2 separate regions of the Homo sapiens genome follow, and region 2 is linked to region 1. The links are contacts of gene promoters, found by promoter capture Hi-C in human tissues and cell types (Jung and others, 2019). All regions are on one chromosome and are shown on one strand. The core of a region is centred on a gene start or on the middle of the fragment in contact, and the rest is flanking DNA. Distances in the headings are between cores, read along the strand shown. Region 1 holds the start of TOM1L1 (target of myb1 like 1 membrane trafficking protein). Region 2 has its middle 470 kb from the start of TOM1L1.

Region 1 (7,569 bases), core at 3,584-6,083:
CCTAGCTAACCTATTAGTTTTCTCAGAATACTTGCTTCTTATTTTTTACCCAGGATTAAAAATGTAACTATAGCTTGAGAAATCCTCGAGTCTTAATTATAAAATTAAAGTACTTACTGACAAGGTAAGTTGGATTTCTTTATGATTGTAGTTTTTGGAAATCCTTTTCTTCAAAGCTTTCACTGCATCTTTTGGCCTATAGCAATAAATACACTGAAATCACCAATTTAGGCATTGCTGAAAACAAGCAGTCTCTCTGAAAAGCAACATGCATTTGGAGAGAGGAATGGCTAAGGAGCAGAAAACTAAGGCCTTGGTTCTACTGTGGGACCCTATGCGAATGACTTAACTTCTTGAACCTAAATTTCTTCACGCATACAGGCAGACAATACCACCTAACCCCTTATGAGAATCAAATAAAATATTTTCGTACAAGACTATTACCTAGAAAGTACTACCCATGAAATGCACTCATTCCTGTATCCCTCTATCAATGCACAGAACCAACTTATAGGAAATGCAACTTCCGAAACAATGAATGTTACCATTTTTATTAAAACTATTAGTATTTCCTGAGCACCCTATAGACAAGGGGATGTAACAGGAATTACAACAAACTAGGTCAGCTGCCAATACGCCACAATTTTATGTTACAAAGAAAGGACTGTTTATAAGGGTCCAAATTTACTTTAAGATTCTCTTTTTGTATTATCAATGAATTGGTATTATCAATGAAAATGTTCCCAGAGGAACTAAACATGGTAAATAGGATTATAGGAAAAAAACCATACACACTTAAAAGTACTAACCATAAGCGCTTTCCATTTATTTATAATCAATAATTAAGTTTGATGTTTTCTTTATCAACATAAGCTAGACTAAATCTCTTTTACTGCCAGTTATCACTTTAATATGCCCAGGAAAATTACCAGAATTGTGTTCCTTAGAATAACTTGTAATTGACTACAAGCAAACCAGTTTGCTCTTCTTAATGACTTTTTTCTTATAACTTCGATTCTCGAAAGTTTAAGAAGTTTAAGAACAAACGATAGCACATGCTATAAGAATACAGCTTAAACATGGGTGAGTTGACATTCAGAAGGAAAAAAATTGTCCTGGGACAGGGAGGAAAAAAGACTGCTAGATTGTTTCCTGGTTACTAGAAATAATTGCTCAGAAATAGGTCACCACCGGGAGTCAACCAGCTTCTTGATAATATTTGATGGTTTCATCAAATACTGGCACTGGGAGCTGGAGATATTCCTAAAGAAGGACACAATCTCTCTTTTTCAATTTTTTTTTTTTTTTTTTTTTTGAGATAGAGTCTTGCTTTGTTACCCAGGCTGGAGTGCAGTGGCATGATCTCTGCTCACTGCAAGCTCCACCTCCCAGGCTCACGCCATTCTCCTGCCTCAGCCTCCCAAGTAGCTGGTACTACAGGCACCCGCCACCATGCCTGGCTAATTTTTTTTGTATTTTTTAGTAGAGATGGGGTTTCAACGTGTTAGCCAGGATGGTCTCCATCTCCCGACCTCATGATCCGCCCGCCTCGGCCTCCCAAAGTGCTGGGATTACAGGCGTGAGCCACTGCGCCCGGCCTTTTTCAATCTTTTAGAAGGAAGGAATTTGAGCTTCACAGTGACAAAATTTGAAACTATTAAAGAAACTGCCAAGAGGAGAAAAATTATAGTGGATTTATGGATACTCCACATGTTGAAGCAAGCAGCTGCCCCAATATTTCAACCTGACAAGTCTTCAAAAGATAGAGGGTGCCTAATGAATGATGAAAACACTCTTTCAACAACAAAACCGAAATATTTGCAAGAGAAAACGTGCTGTAGTTCTGATGCTTCTTGTCAGAGGCAAATACATGGAAACCATGCTGTACTCACCCATCCTGGGTAGTGTTAATTATGTCACAGATGTGCATGAACTGGCCCCAATCTTCAGTCTGAACTCCAGCAAATGTAGCCTTTTCTGCCAAGAAAAAGCTGTTGAGTCTGAGCTACAACAGAATAAAAAATGTCTGGTATTCCTGAAATAATCTGCCTAGGCTGCACCAGCAAGTGTCATTAAGTTTACATTGCCAAAGGGCAAAGTGATTTTTTTTGGAACAGTTCTCAGTAATTCAGGAATCAATCAGAACCCAAGTTCAGAGTGCTGCTGCAGCAACAGTAATGAGTGACCTATTAATAAAGACCTCAAGCACAACAGCTGGCCACAGGCCCAGGCCAGGCCAGCTAAATCTCCGCCTGCCTGGCTTTCAGAGAAGGGAACTAGGGCTTAGTGAGCAGCTACCTAGAAGGTGAACTGCATAGTGCTAAGTATTTTATCATACGCAATTTCATTTAACCCACTGTGAGAGATGATGAGATAGAAGTTCAGAGAGGTTAGGAAATTACCAAAGTTATACAGTCAGTATGAAGTAGAATTGGCATTCAAATCTAGGTTGTTTGGTCCCACTGTTTGTTTTTAAAAATAATTTATTCTCTGGGGGGACAGGAGGAAAGAACTTTTAAAGGAGAGAAGTAATCCGTTGTTCTTAGGAGCCAAAACATTGGCACAACTCCAAATAAAAGTAATACGTTTATTGTCCTATCATCTTAATCTCACGATTCCTTCTAATTTTACCAATTATTATAACTTCAACCAATACTTGCAAAGACACTGCTTACCTCAACTATGTAAAAACTTCCATTGCATACACTTTTACTTTCAGCCTTAATTATTTCAAACTGGCGCTGGATAACTATCCGAACTAATAATAATAAGCATCTAAACTAACCACAGCTGCACCAGGCTGACCAGAATGCTTCTGCACTTGGAACCCTATGATTAGATAATCAGGCATCTTTCCCTCTCCAGACAGCCGCTTTAAGAATACAAGATGTTATCTGGAAAGGGTAATGGAACACTCAGTATGAATGCGCTAACATCTTCCTAAGAGAAGGACAAGATCCCTAAGCATGAAAACACCGGGTTCTGGGGGAAATGGAGAAAAAAACAAAAAAGATAGAGAAGGGGAAGAATAAGGACTTGCTTGGGGGAACCCCAAAGTTTAGCTTGCTTTCAATCCAGGAAAAGAACCACTTGAGGCGGGGCCCGGTGGCTCCCGCCTGTAATCCCAATCACTTTGGGAGGCCGAGGTGGGTAGATCACCTGAGGTCAGGAGGTCGAGACCAGCCTGGCCAGCATGGTGAAACTCCATCTCTACTAAAAATACAAAAATTAGCCTGGCGTGGTGGCATGTGCCTGTAGTCCCAGCTACTCGGGAGGCTGAGGAAGGAGAAGTGCTTGAACCCGGTAGGCGGAGGTTGCAGTGTGCCGAGAGCTACTGCACTCCAGCCTGGGTGTCACTCCCCGTCTCAAAACAAAAACAAAAACAAAAACAAAACAACAACAACAAAAAACTTGAATCTGGCACCGAATGGACAAAGCTTACCTCCCTAGAAAAGAAAACTCCTATTCACCCTTCAAAAGCCACGCAGAATTCATTTCTCCCTTCTCCTAAGTTTTGTGTGTTTTGCATTTTCTTGCATTGCAAAGGTGCCACACAAAACTGTGCCCGTCTTCTCTACAAGAAAGTGAGTTCCCTCAGGTTTGAGACCACGTCTCACCTTGGCCTCACCAGTGCCTGATCCAGGTCCAGGCACATAGCTGACAGTTAGTCCATGTTTACAGAATTAAAAAATTAAGCAGAAGAACTGCTGAAGTTTCGTTTGCCTATGAAGACACAGTCTGAATCCATTTCTGCTTGGGGTTCATTCTAATATCCAAAAAAGCACAGCCATTAAGGGAAAGCATCTCCTCAATGGTAGCTACTCTGACCATCTTATAAGGATGTGTAAACTAAGGTTCTGTTTAAGTGGTGTGTTCGGTGTCACAGCAGTTAGTAGAGCTGTGATCTAAATTTTCCAAATCTGGGCCTCTTTACTACAACTACTAGGTTCTCACGATTTCATCACCCCACTAAGTTCCTGACATCATCACACTTTGCCTGGCATTAATATGCACTCGTGCCACACCCAATTCCCAAGGGAGGAATCAGGGAAAAGAAGGAGCAGTGAGCTGGTGCTGGTAGGAGTCCAATCACTGGCTTCTACATACATCATGCAAGGTACATCCGGAGGAGAGAGAAATCATTTAGGTGGATGCTGGTGTAGTCCCTAGTGGCCTGCGAGAGACCTCCGTGGCCCCAGATGGCTCCTATGTTCCCCTCCTCTTCACTCCAATGCCAAGCATTTTCATTCTCTTTGTTTACCCAGAAAAGTAATCCAGGTTGTATAAGCTTGGCACTAGAGAAAACTGGTTTGGGGAGACCTGCCCCTCACAGTAAGGCCACATCACTTAGTCTCCCAGAGCCTCCTCTTCTGATCTGTAAAACGGGCATAACAATACCGTGCCCTGGAGAATGTGCCTTTAGGAATAACTTCCCCTACCGAGAAGTTTCTGGTGTCTCCTCGTGGAGGCCCAAACACTCCATGCCTGACTCCCGCGGTTCACCTGTTTGGTTCCACTCCCCAGGCGGCATCGAAAGGAAGGTACATTTTTGAGGACTGAGGTTCTACAGTGAGTTGGCCAAGAAGGAAACGACGAAAGGGGGCCGGGTGGAATGCGGGTGCCTTGGGAAAGTTGCGGGGGGAGGGGAATAATTTTTTCAAGTTGGACTAACTCCGTCCTCTGCAGGCCGAGAATGGATCAAGCAGGAAAGGATCCCACGGTCCCCTGCCTGCCTGGGCGTCTCTCCCCGCGCCTCCTTACCTATGAGGTGGCCCACGGAGGTCGCGTAGGGATCCCGGTGACTCTTGCCAAACGCCATGGTAGCGCCAGAGGGCCGGGCCCAGGAAATCCGCCTCCACCGCTCTCCGGCTCCCGACTCCACCCGCTCGGTACCCTTGGCTCCTCCTCTTCGCCCGAGCGCTTCCCGGGCTCTGGCAGAGGCGGTGCGTTCTGCGCTGCCGCTGCGGGGCGCGGGCACCGAGCGTGAGGAGCTGGGCGCGGGGCAGGGACGCGAGGGCGGGGCTTCGGGACGCCCAGCGCACCTGCAGCGCGCCCTGCGGGACCCGCGAGGAGGCTGCGCTGCCGGCTGCAGGTGGTACAGGCGGGTAGTGGCGGGTGTATGGAGCCTGCGAGAGTGGCGCGGCCGCCCGCTCGGATCCCAGGTGGGCTTTTCGCCCCGTGCAGGAGGAGCAGGCAGCCCAGAATCTCCAGCCTGGGAATTAGAGACCCAGGCTTTGATCCTGCCGCTTGCTGGGCACCTTGTCATTCTTCTCTGCGCCTCTTTGGCTGCCCTGGGTAGACCAAAGATAATAGGGGGTTAATAACACAAACCTCAGAATTATGAGAATTAAGGGAAGGACGTAACCGATTATGTCGGTGTCTGGTACCCACAAAATAAATAGTTAGCCACTGAATATACTGAATAACTAGAAATATTTACCCTCGACCTGCCTTTGTCCTAGAGATCCGGGAGGGGAGGTGTGCGCCCTGCCCTTTAAAGTTGTGGTCATGTCTAGGAGGAAGGATTGGCTTCGAATTTAGGGCTTCCCAGGAGCAGGCCCTCTTTGTCTCTCTACTATTTCCTCGAGGGACCACAGGGCGCCGCCTCGCAAGCTCTTGTTTTCTAACCCCACCTTCTGGGAGCCGTGTTTTCCAGCCTGATTCTAAAAACGGGAGAGGGGCTTTCCGTTTCTTCTGGCAAGGAGTATGCTTGGCTTTAGGCCTGCTTTGTAATGTAGGTTGGAATCTGAGAAGCCCAACACCTTTCCAGCTGCCCCTTCAGAACCAGAATTTATTTCCTATTCCTTTGCATTCAATTAACATCTGATTGGCGATGTTAACAATCTCCAGCCAGCAGGAGCCTGCCAGAGAGTGAGGTGTCCCCAGGCGATGTCAGATAGCCATAGATGAGCTCCTGGTGCTTGTAGATCCTGTTTCCTGTAGTCTAACTGCCACCCATTTCAAGTCTGTTTTTTAGCCCTGGAGATGGTGACTAGGGAGACGAAGGGGACCTGTTTTGACTTATGTCCGTGGTCTTGTGAATTTTAATATAGAGGTCAAAACCAATTGCCATGCACTCCAGGAGGCTAACATTTAATTATCTGTAACTCAATTATTTATAATTTTTCTTGACCAAAGTGAGCCAAAACCTGGGATTCTAAAATCTAGAATGAAATATTCTTGTTGTGATGATATGTCTCATAATGGGATTTGTCCCACGTGTAACTAATATTCTCCACCTGCCTATTCAGGGCGAGTAGCTATTTCAGATGTTGCCGTTTATCAACTTCCTTACTCATCACTATAGCCTCTGCTGACACTGTTGAAAACCTCTTTTGTGACATCACCAACCTAATCTGTATTCCATGCCTCTAGCAAAATATTTTGCCTTTTCTGCAACCTAGAATCAACCTACAATCTCTGAAAAAGAAAACCAATTTTAGCTTAGGCCAATGTTGGTGTCAGTGGCCTTCTATCAGTTAATGAGAACGAGAAAGGAACCGAGCATCCAGAGAGATAGATTTTTAACATACTTCTATGTGGGAGGTTTTTCTTTTCGTCTTCTTCTTCTTCTTTTTTTTTTTTTGTTTTTTTCTCCTATGTCTGATTTCCTTACATGACAGGACTGAGGCACCGAGAAAGAGGAGAAACAGTAGCAAGGAGTGTCTTCTGGACTTGATGCTTGGGTGAACAGAACCAAGGTTGATGAGTGCTACCTGTGTTCTATCTCAGCAATGCCTGGCAGAAGTTTTTCTCTCTCCCTGTGCCCTCCAGGGTGTTGTGGTGGTTGTTGCAGCCTTCTCTTCCTGTACTCTGTTCCGTTCTGCATGATCCCTCTTCTCTCCAGGCATGAAAATCAACGTGGTTAATGTTAGTAAAGTCTAGCAGCGGGGACAATAGAATTCACAGCTAAGTTGAGGTCAGAGAAGGAGCAGAATCCCACAGGGGTAAAATGACACCAGGAGTAAAATCTTACCACAATTTCAATTCCAAGAACACTTAGTCAACATTTATTTATGTAAAATGTGCTAAGTGTCTGCAACTAGAAATCTATCTTAATCTTCACAATCCTGAGAGGTGGGTAGTATTAACCTCATTTTTACAAATATATAATCTGAGATTCAGAAAGATCAAGTTTATAAATGGCTTCACTAAAGTTTGACTCATGGCTGCCTGGTTCCAAAGCCTATATTATTGTCACTAGGTGAATCTGTTTATTGAGCCTGATGTCTTGCTTTTTTAAAGGATCTGCTTGATTCAGTGCAAGACCTCTTGAAGAATACAGGAATAGGGGAAGTCATATACTTTGCTGGCACAAGGTCCTGCTTTTTTTCTGTTCTTGTTCAATAGCGAATATTTTTTGTGCTAGAACTATATGCCAGATATGTTCTAAACATATTACATGCGTTATCTCATTTAATCACATAATAACGTTATGAGACCAGTACGGTTATTACTTTATTTTTCATGTTAGAAAAACCAAAGTAATGGCTGGGCGCGGTGGCTCACACCTGTAATCCTAGCACTTTGGGAGGCCGAGGCAGGCATATCACCTGACGTCAGGAGTTC
Region 2 (7,569 bases), core at 2,084-4,583, 470 kb after region 1:
TGGGGTGTTAAAGTCTCCCACTATTATTGTGTGAGAGTCCAAGTCTCTTTTTAGGTCTCTAAGAACTTGCTTTATGAATCTGGGTGCTCCTGTATTGGGTGCATATATATTTATCATAGTTAGCTCTTTTTGTTGCATTGATCCCTTACCATTATGTAATGTCCTTCTTTGTCTCTTTTGATCTTTGTTGGTTTAAAGTCTGTTTTATCAGAGACTAGGTTGTCAACCCCTGCTTTTTACTGCTTTCCTTTTGCTTGGTAAATATTCCTCCTTCCCTTTATTTTGAGCCTATGTGTGTCTTTGCACATGAGAGGGGTCTCCTGAATACAGCACACTGATGGGTCTTAATTCTTTATCCAATTTGCCAGTCTGCATCTTTTAATTGGGGCATTTAGCCAATTTATATTTCATGATAATATTGTTATGTGTGAATTTGATCCTGTCATTATGATGCTAGCTGGTTATTTTGCTCGTTAGTTGATGCAGTTTCTTCATAGCATTGTTGGTCTTTACAATTTACCGTGTTTTTGCAGTGGCTGGTACCAGTTGTTCCTTTCCATGTTTAGTGCTTCCTTCAGGAGCTCTTGTAAGGCAGGCCTGGTGGTGACAAAAATCTCTTAGCATTTGCTTATCTTTAAAGGATTTTATTTCTTTTTTATTGCTTATGAAGCTTAGTTTGGCTGGATATGAAATTCTGGGTTGAAAATTCTTTTCTTTAAGAATGTTAAATATTGGCTCCCACTCTCTTCTGGCTTGCAAGGTTTCTGCTGAAAGATCCGCTATTAGTCTGATGGGCTTCCCTTTGTGAGTAACCCGATCTTTCTCTCTGGCTGCCCTTAAACATTTTTTCCTTCATTTCAACCTTGGTGAATCTGACAATTATGAGTCTTGGGGTTGCTCTTCTCAAGGAATATCTTTGTGGTGTTCTCTGTATTTCCTGAATTTGAATGTTGGCCTGGCTTGCCAGGTTGGGGAAGTTCTCCTGGATCATATCCTAAAGAGTGTTTTTCAACTTGGTTCCATTCTCCCTGTCACTTTCAGGTACACCAATCAAACGTAGATTTGGTCTTTTCACATAGTCCCATATTTCTTGGAGACTTTATTAGTTTCTTTTCACTCTTTTTTCTCTAATCTTGTCTTCTCACTTTATTTTATTGAGTTGATCTTCAGTCTCTAATATCCTTTCTTCCACTTGATTGATTTGTCTATTGATACTTGTGTATGCTTCATGAAGTTATTGTGCTGTGTTTTTCAGCTCCATTAGGTCATTTATGTTCTTCCTATACTGGTTATTCTAGTTAGCAATTCATCTAACCTTCTTTCAAGGTTCTTAGCTTCCTTGCATTAGGTTAAAACATGCTCCTTTAGCTCAGAAGAGTTTGTTATTACCCACGTTCTGAAGCCTACTTCTGTCAATTTGTCAAACTCTTTCTCCGTCCAGTTTTGTTTCCTTGCTGGCACAGAGTTGTGATCCTTTGGAGGAGAAGAGGTATTCTGGTATTTGGAATTTTCAGCCTTTTTGCTCCAGTTTCTCCCCATGTTCATGGATTTATCTACCTTTGGTCTTTGATGTTGGTGACCTTCGGATGGGGAAGCTGGACATCCTTTTTGTTGATGTTGATACTATTCCTTTCTGTCTGTTAATTTTCCTTCCAATAGGCCCCTCTGCTGCAGGTCTGCTGGAGTTTGCTGGAGGTCCACTTCAGACCCTGTTTGCCTGGGTATCACCAGCGGAGGGTACAGAACAGCAAAGATTGCTGCCTGTTCCTTCCTCTGGAAGCTTCGTCCCTGAGGGGCACCTACCAAATGCTAGCCAGAGTTCTTCTGTATGAGGTATCTGTCAGCCCTTACTGGGAGGTTTCTCCCAGTCAGGAGACACGGGGGTCAGGGGCCCGCTTGAGGAGGCAGTCTGTCCCTTATCAGAGCACAAATGCTGTGTGCTGGGAGAACCACTGCTCTCTTCAGAGCTGTCAGGCAGGGATGTTTAAGTCTGCTGAAGCTGTAACCACACCCACCCATTCCCCCAGGTGCTCTGTCCCAGGAAGATGGGGGTTTCATCTATAAGTCCCTGACTGGGGCTGCTGCCATTTTTTCAGATATGTCCTGCCCAGAGAGGAGGAATCTAGAGAGGCAGTCTGGCCACAGTGGCCTCGCTGAGCTGCAGTGGGCTCCATCAAGTTCGAACTTCCAGGCAGCATTGTTTACACTGTGAGGGTAAAACCGCCTACTCAAACCTCAGCGATGGCAGATGCCCCTCCCCCCACCAAGCTCGAGCATCCCGGGTTGACCTCAGACTGATGTGCTGGCAGCGAGAATTTCAAGCCAGTGGATCTTAGCTTGCTGGGCTGCGTGGGGGTGGGACCTGCTGAGCCAGACCACTTGGCTTCCTGACTTCAGCCCCCTTTCCAGGGAAGTGAACGGTTCTGTCTCGCTGGCATTCCAGGTACCACTAGGGTACGAAAAAAAAACTCCTGCAGCTAGCCCAGTGTCTGCCCTAACAGCTGCCTAGTTTTGTGCTTAAAATCCAGGGCCCTGGTGGCATAGGCACTGGAGGAATTCTCCTGGCCTGCCAGTTGTGAAGAACATGGGAAAAGTGTGTTATCTGAGCCAGAGTGCACCGTTCCTCCTGGTACAGTCTCTCATGGCTTCCCTTGGCTAGGAGAGGGAAATCTCTCAACCCCTTGCACTTCCCAGGTGAGGTGGTGCCCCACCCTGCTTCAGCTTGCCCTTTGTGGGCTCCACCCACTGTCCAACCATTCCCAGTGAGATGAACCACGTACCTCAGTTGGAAATGCAGAAATCACCCACCTTCTGCGTTGATCTCACTGGGAGCTGCAGACCGGAGCTGTTCCTATTTGGCCATCTTGCCAGCCTCTCCTACATTAGAAAGAAGTATGTTTTTATAGATTGATGTAATATTTAAATAATATTTAAAGCAGTAAGAAAACTTTAATGATATTTTGTTAGTGGCAAGGTCAGCAGTAGAAGAGAAAAAAAGCATTCAGAAACTGCATTAATCCAAGTAGAGTTTCTGGGTCAAGAGAGGTGATAGACCTAGTGAATTCTGCACTCATCTGATCATATACATTGTACTGTGTTAAGTTCTACTCACCACTTTTTAAAACAGAAATAGATGAGCATGTGTTCATATGTAAGACAATTATTATATGTTAAGGAAGTTCTGGAAATAATATATAGACTATTTAATCCAAGGATATTTGGATAAAAAGGATAATTATTTTTAAGTATTTAAATAGCTGTAACATAAAAGAGAGAGTTCATTTTCATGTTTTCTTATGGCTGCATCTAAAGCTAATGAGTGACATTTATAAAAACTGAGCTTTTAGCTCAATATGGAAAGAATGTTTTAAAAATCAACACTTTCTAACAATGGATAAATCTAAAATAGCGGATGAATGATGATATACCTATGATATAACAGAAAGGATTTCTATGCAAAATTTGATGTAAGGAAGAATTACAAACCTTCTGTGTCCTTTTCTATCATAGATTATTATTATTCTAATAATTCATAACATGAAAGCTTGAATTCTTTAATAAAAGTGATAAATCTGCTGAGGGCAAAATGAATAAAATCTATTTCTATTTTTACTACTAACTAAAGTTGTATGTAAATTTAATATTTACTTGTTTTTATGTGTGACATATAACCACAGAGAGATATATTTCTAAAATATGCTAATCAAATATTAATAGTGCAGTACCTGAGCAATGCTACTACAAAAACAACATATTATCATAAGATCAAACTTACCAAGACAGTATTTATCTACCTATTTGTGTGATTCAGCACTGATGTATTTTCTGAGATTAAAAACAAATGAAAAAAAACACTAAAAAGTTGAAGATTTAGAACAAACCTTAAATCTTTAAAAGTTATAGTGGATTTTTTAGTACAATTAATCATAGGAGTTACAAGAGAATTTTCGTTGGCTGAGCAAGAGCCTGATAAAATCTCTTCCCACTTTTCCCAGTGTTTGTTCGTATCAGTTAATAACATGTGAACCTTGGTGCAGTGGGGAGAACTGGGAGAACAGTGTGGCATTCATCCTGCAACCAGCTACTTGGACTGCGTTTAAAACAGGAGACTGGTTAAATACCTGGACCCTGGAGCCAGAACATCTGACTCAAAATTCAAGTTATGTTTCTTCAAAACTAAGTGAACCTGGGCAAGTGGTGGAAGCTTTTATTGTCTCAGTTTTCTCATTTATAAAATATTTAAAAATTAAGAGAATAGATTCCATAGGATTGTTGTGACAGTCATAATTACAGTAATAGCTAATATTTATTGAGTGCTCACTATGTACTTGGCACAATTCTAAATGGATGGCCTGTATTGTTCATTTAATCATTATAACACACTCTAAAGTTGGTCAGTTTTTTTTTTCTTTTCCAAGTTGGGAAACTGAAGCACAGAGAGTTGGCAACTTATTAAAAGTAATACTATTAACCCAAAAAATCCAGCTTCAAAGATCACATTCTTAAGTATTACTCTCTAACCATATCAAGTAGGTCCTAGCACATGGTAAAGAACTCAATAAATTATAGCTAATATTACTTTCATTAGAGTGAAGACATGTCTTCACATTGTTCGGTTACTGAGCTTTATTAATATTTATTACCATAATTTAGAAATAAACGGGAGATATGGACAGAGAGGTGATGCTAGAACCCCTATGGCTGTGTCACTCTGCACGTATCTGATCTCATCTGGCAAACAGATTTAATGAGATTCTTTGTGTGACTCTAGGCACAAATGGAGCTACTTTGGATTCCAAGTAAAAAGGCAATAAAAGCCATCTGTCTCTTTCTGTTCGGAACTCTTTTAGGGACAACATGGCAGGTAGTGACAGTGGCAAAGCTTGACCAAGGGACTTTACAGCCACTGAGTATATAAAAGGGGGAGTAGAGTGAAAACCACATGGCAGTGGTTTCAACAGTGGTTCGTAAGCATGATTAGGGCACCACTTTTAGGACTTTTTGTTATAGCCAAAAGAGATATTGAGGTGAACGAATATTCATCAGATATATCAGTGGGGGCTCAAGCTGCCATAATTTGATCATTTAAAATAAATGTGGGTTCCACTTCCAGTGGATAGCTCAGAAAGCTCCACTCTCTCAAATAACAAATATGAAATCTGTTCCAAAAATAAAAAATAAATAACAAAACCTTCCCAAAGGCACCGGAGAGTGACAAAAAGCAGACAGACTATGGGGTGGAGATGGGCACAGGAATCGATACTGGGAAGGGAATGGCACTGGGGGAGTTTCCCATTTTCTTTGCTTCCATCCTGAGAAATGACAGTGTGTGCACATGGGGTGATAAAACTACAAGAAAGTCTGGTGTCATGTTGGCTCAAAGAAACAGAGGAGAAAGTTCAGGGCAACCACAGTTGTAGAAAAACAGGTTAGGAATCCTGGGGAGACCCACAGAGGGAAAGTCCAATAATTAGTGTATAAACTCTTCCCAGATATCGATGACCTCTGAATCACATCTGTGTGTGGTAGACTTTCAGTAACATAGCAAGGCAAAAAGGACAGAATTGAGATCAGGACTACTGCCCAGGAGAAAGAGTGTGCAGTTTAAATTTATCGAAGCAATTTGCTAGAACAAATACATCTACACTATATGCGGCAATATAAGAGAATCCAGAGTCTCTATAATATTAAATGCATATGTCCAGGATACCATACAAAACTTACTTAACAAAAGAAGAAATCAAAAATGGGAACCATTCTCTTAGGGGAAAAGACCAGTAAGAAAAATAATGATCTTGAAATGGCCAAGATGTTGAAACTACTAGACAAAATTTTAGAGAAGATGTTATAATTATGCTCAATAATATAAGGGAAAATATACTTAGAATGAATAAAAAGATAGAAATACAAAATTCAGGAATGGAAATATTAAAAATAGAATTTTTAGAACTGGAAAATACAATATTTGAAATTAAAAAAAAAAACTCAGTGAATAAGCTTAACAGCAAAATGGAAATGACAAAGAAAAAGTCCAATAAGTTTGATCAATGAACAGGAGAAAATATTCAATCTGAAGACAAAGAAAAAATACTGAAAAAAGTGAACAGAGCCTCAAAGGCATAACATTTGTTGTATCATATGTGAAATTTGAGTCCAAGGAGGAAGATAGAAAAAAAACAAGACAGAAAAATGTGAAGAAATAATGTCCCTCAAATTCCCAAATTTTGCAAAGACACAAATTTATAGATTCAAAAAGCTAGAAAGCTCTGAGCAGGATAAATACAAACAAAAATATTCCTAGGCACATGATATGGTTTGGCTGTTTTCCCACCCAAATCTCATTTCGAATTGTAGTTCCCATAATACCCACATGTTGTGGGAGGGACCCAGTGGGAAGTGATTGGATGATGGAGGCAGTTTCCCCATGGTGTTTCCATGACACTGAGTTCTCATGAAATCTGATGGTTTTATAAAGGGGTTCCCCCTTTGTTTGGCACTCATTTGCTCTCCTGCCACCCTGTGAAGAGGTGCCTTCTGCCATTATTGTAAGTTTCCTGAGGTTTCCCCAGCCATGTGGAACTGTGAGGCAATTAAACCTCTTTTCTTTATAAATTACCCAGTCTCGGGTATTTCTTCATAGCAGCATGAGAACAGACTAATACAGCATAATTATAATAAAACATCTGAAAACACAAAAAAGACACAAAAGAGTACATGCTGTATGATTTTATATGTGAAATTCAAAAAGAAATGAAACCAATCTGTGATGACAGCAGATAAGTTATTGTCTGGGGCCAAGGGTGAGGATAACCTCAAAAAAACATGAGCAGCCTTTCTGAAGTGCTGGACATATTTTATGTCTTGATTGTAGTGATGTTTATGCAATTGCATGTGTTGTCTAGATTCAATGAATCATGTACTTACAATGGGTGCATTATTTTTATATGTTATAGCTCAATAATATTGACTTTTAAAAAATGAAAGTAGGGTTTGGGAAAGTATCCTCCTAAACTGCAGCTACATATCAAGTATTCTAATAGTCAAACTATGCTCTTGCCTTCTTAAGGGACATTCAAAGTAGAATAAGAAAATATACTGATTAGCCATATTGGCTAATACACTTAGAGTATCATCAAGTCAAATGAAAAGTCCGTATGCATGCAGAAACAGTTTCGGGGAACCCAAGTTTGGTAGAGTAGCACATTTTCTGATTTGGTTTATATCAATTTGTTCAGAAATTTAGAAAAATTTTTTGTTATTGCTTTTCAACCATATAAATTTGTTTATCATTTGTATTAATGAAACCTTCCTGAAATCGTGCAGTCTTAAGTACAAGACTTTAAAACCCAATTTCTGTGCTAAAATCTTACCAAGGATATGAAATTTCTGTGCCAAATGCCTAGGATAATATTTGCAAATGTTGTAGTGTTTCAGTATCTTGCAAAATTAATATTCTAAGGAGTATGAATAACATTTTGAATCTAATCTCTGTGAGCATATATTATTGGCTATTGCTTACCCTTTTGTACTTTTGTTAGGGTCATTTTAAATATGTAATGACAAATTACG

Evidence for each region. The method cuts DNA at HindIII sites, captures the fragments that hold promoters and counts their contacts. A contact is called where the count stands out against the background at its distance.
Region 2: a fragment that was not itself captured here is called in contact with the fragment with the promoter of TOM1L1 in region 1 in 1 of the 25 tissues and cell types used here (dorsolateral prefrontal cortex).

Annotation. Positions count from the first base shown.
Region 1 is chr17:54,898,116-54,905,684 of GRCh38, reverse strand. TOM1L1 (target of myb1 like 1 membrane trafficking protein) reads right to left here and starts at 4,833. Exons shown (of 16, transcript NM_005486.3): 1 at 4,762-4,833; 2 at 1,893-1,977; 3 at 118-196. The coding sequence starts at 4,819. LOC124904033 (a long non-coding RNA gene) reads left to right here and starts at 4,948. Exons shown (of 2, transcript XR_007065854.1): 1 at 4,948-7,077. RefSeq lists enhancers at 4,519-4,608, 4,629-4,738 and a silencer at 4,819-5,158. The HindIII fragment of the contact is 7,312 bases long and covers 3,864-7,569 here.
Region 2 is chr17:54,430,852-54,438,420 of GRCh38, reverse strand. No RefSeq gene overlaps it. Among named protein-coding and RNA genes, the nearest start is that of TOM1L1, 470 kb to the left of the region's middle. The HindIII fragment of the contact is 4,215 bases long and covers 1,226-5,440 here.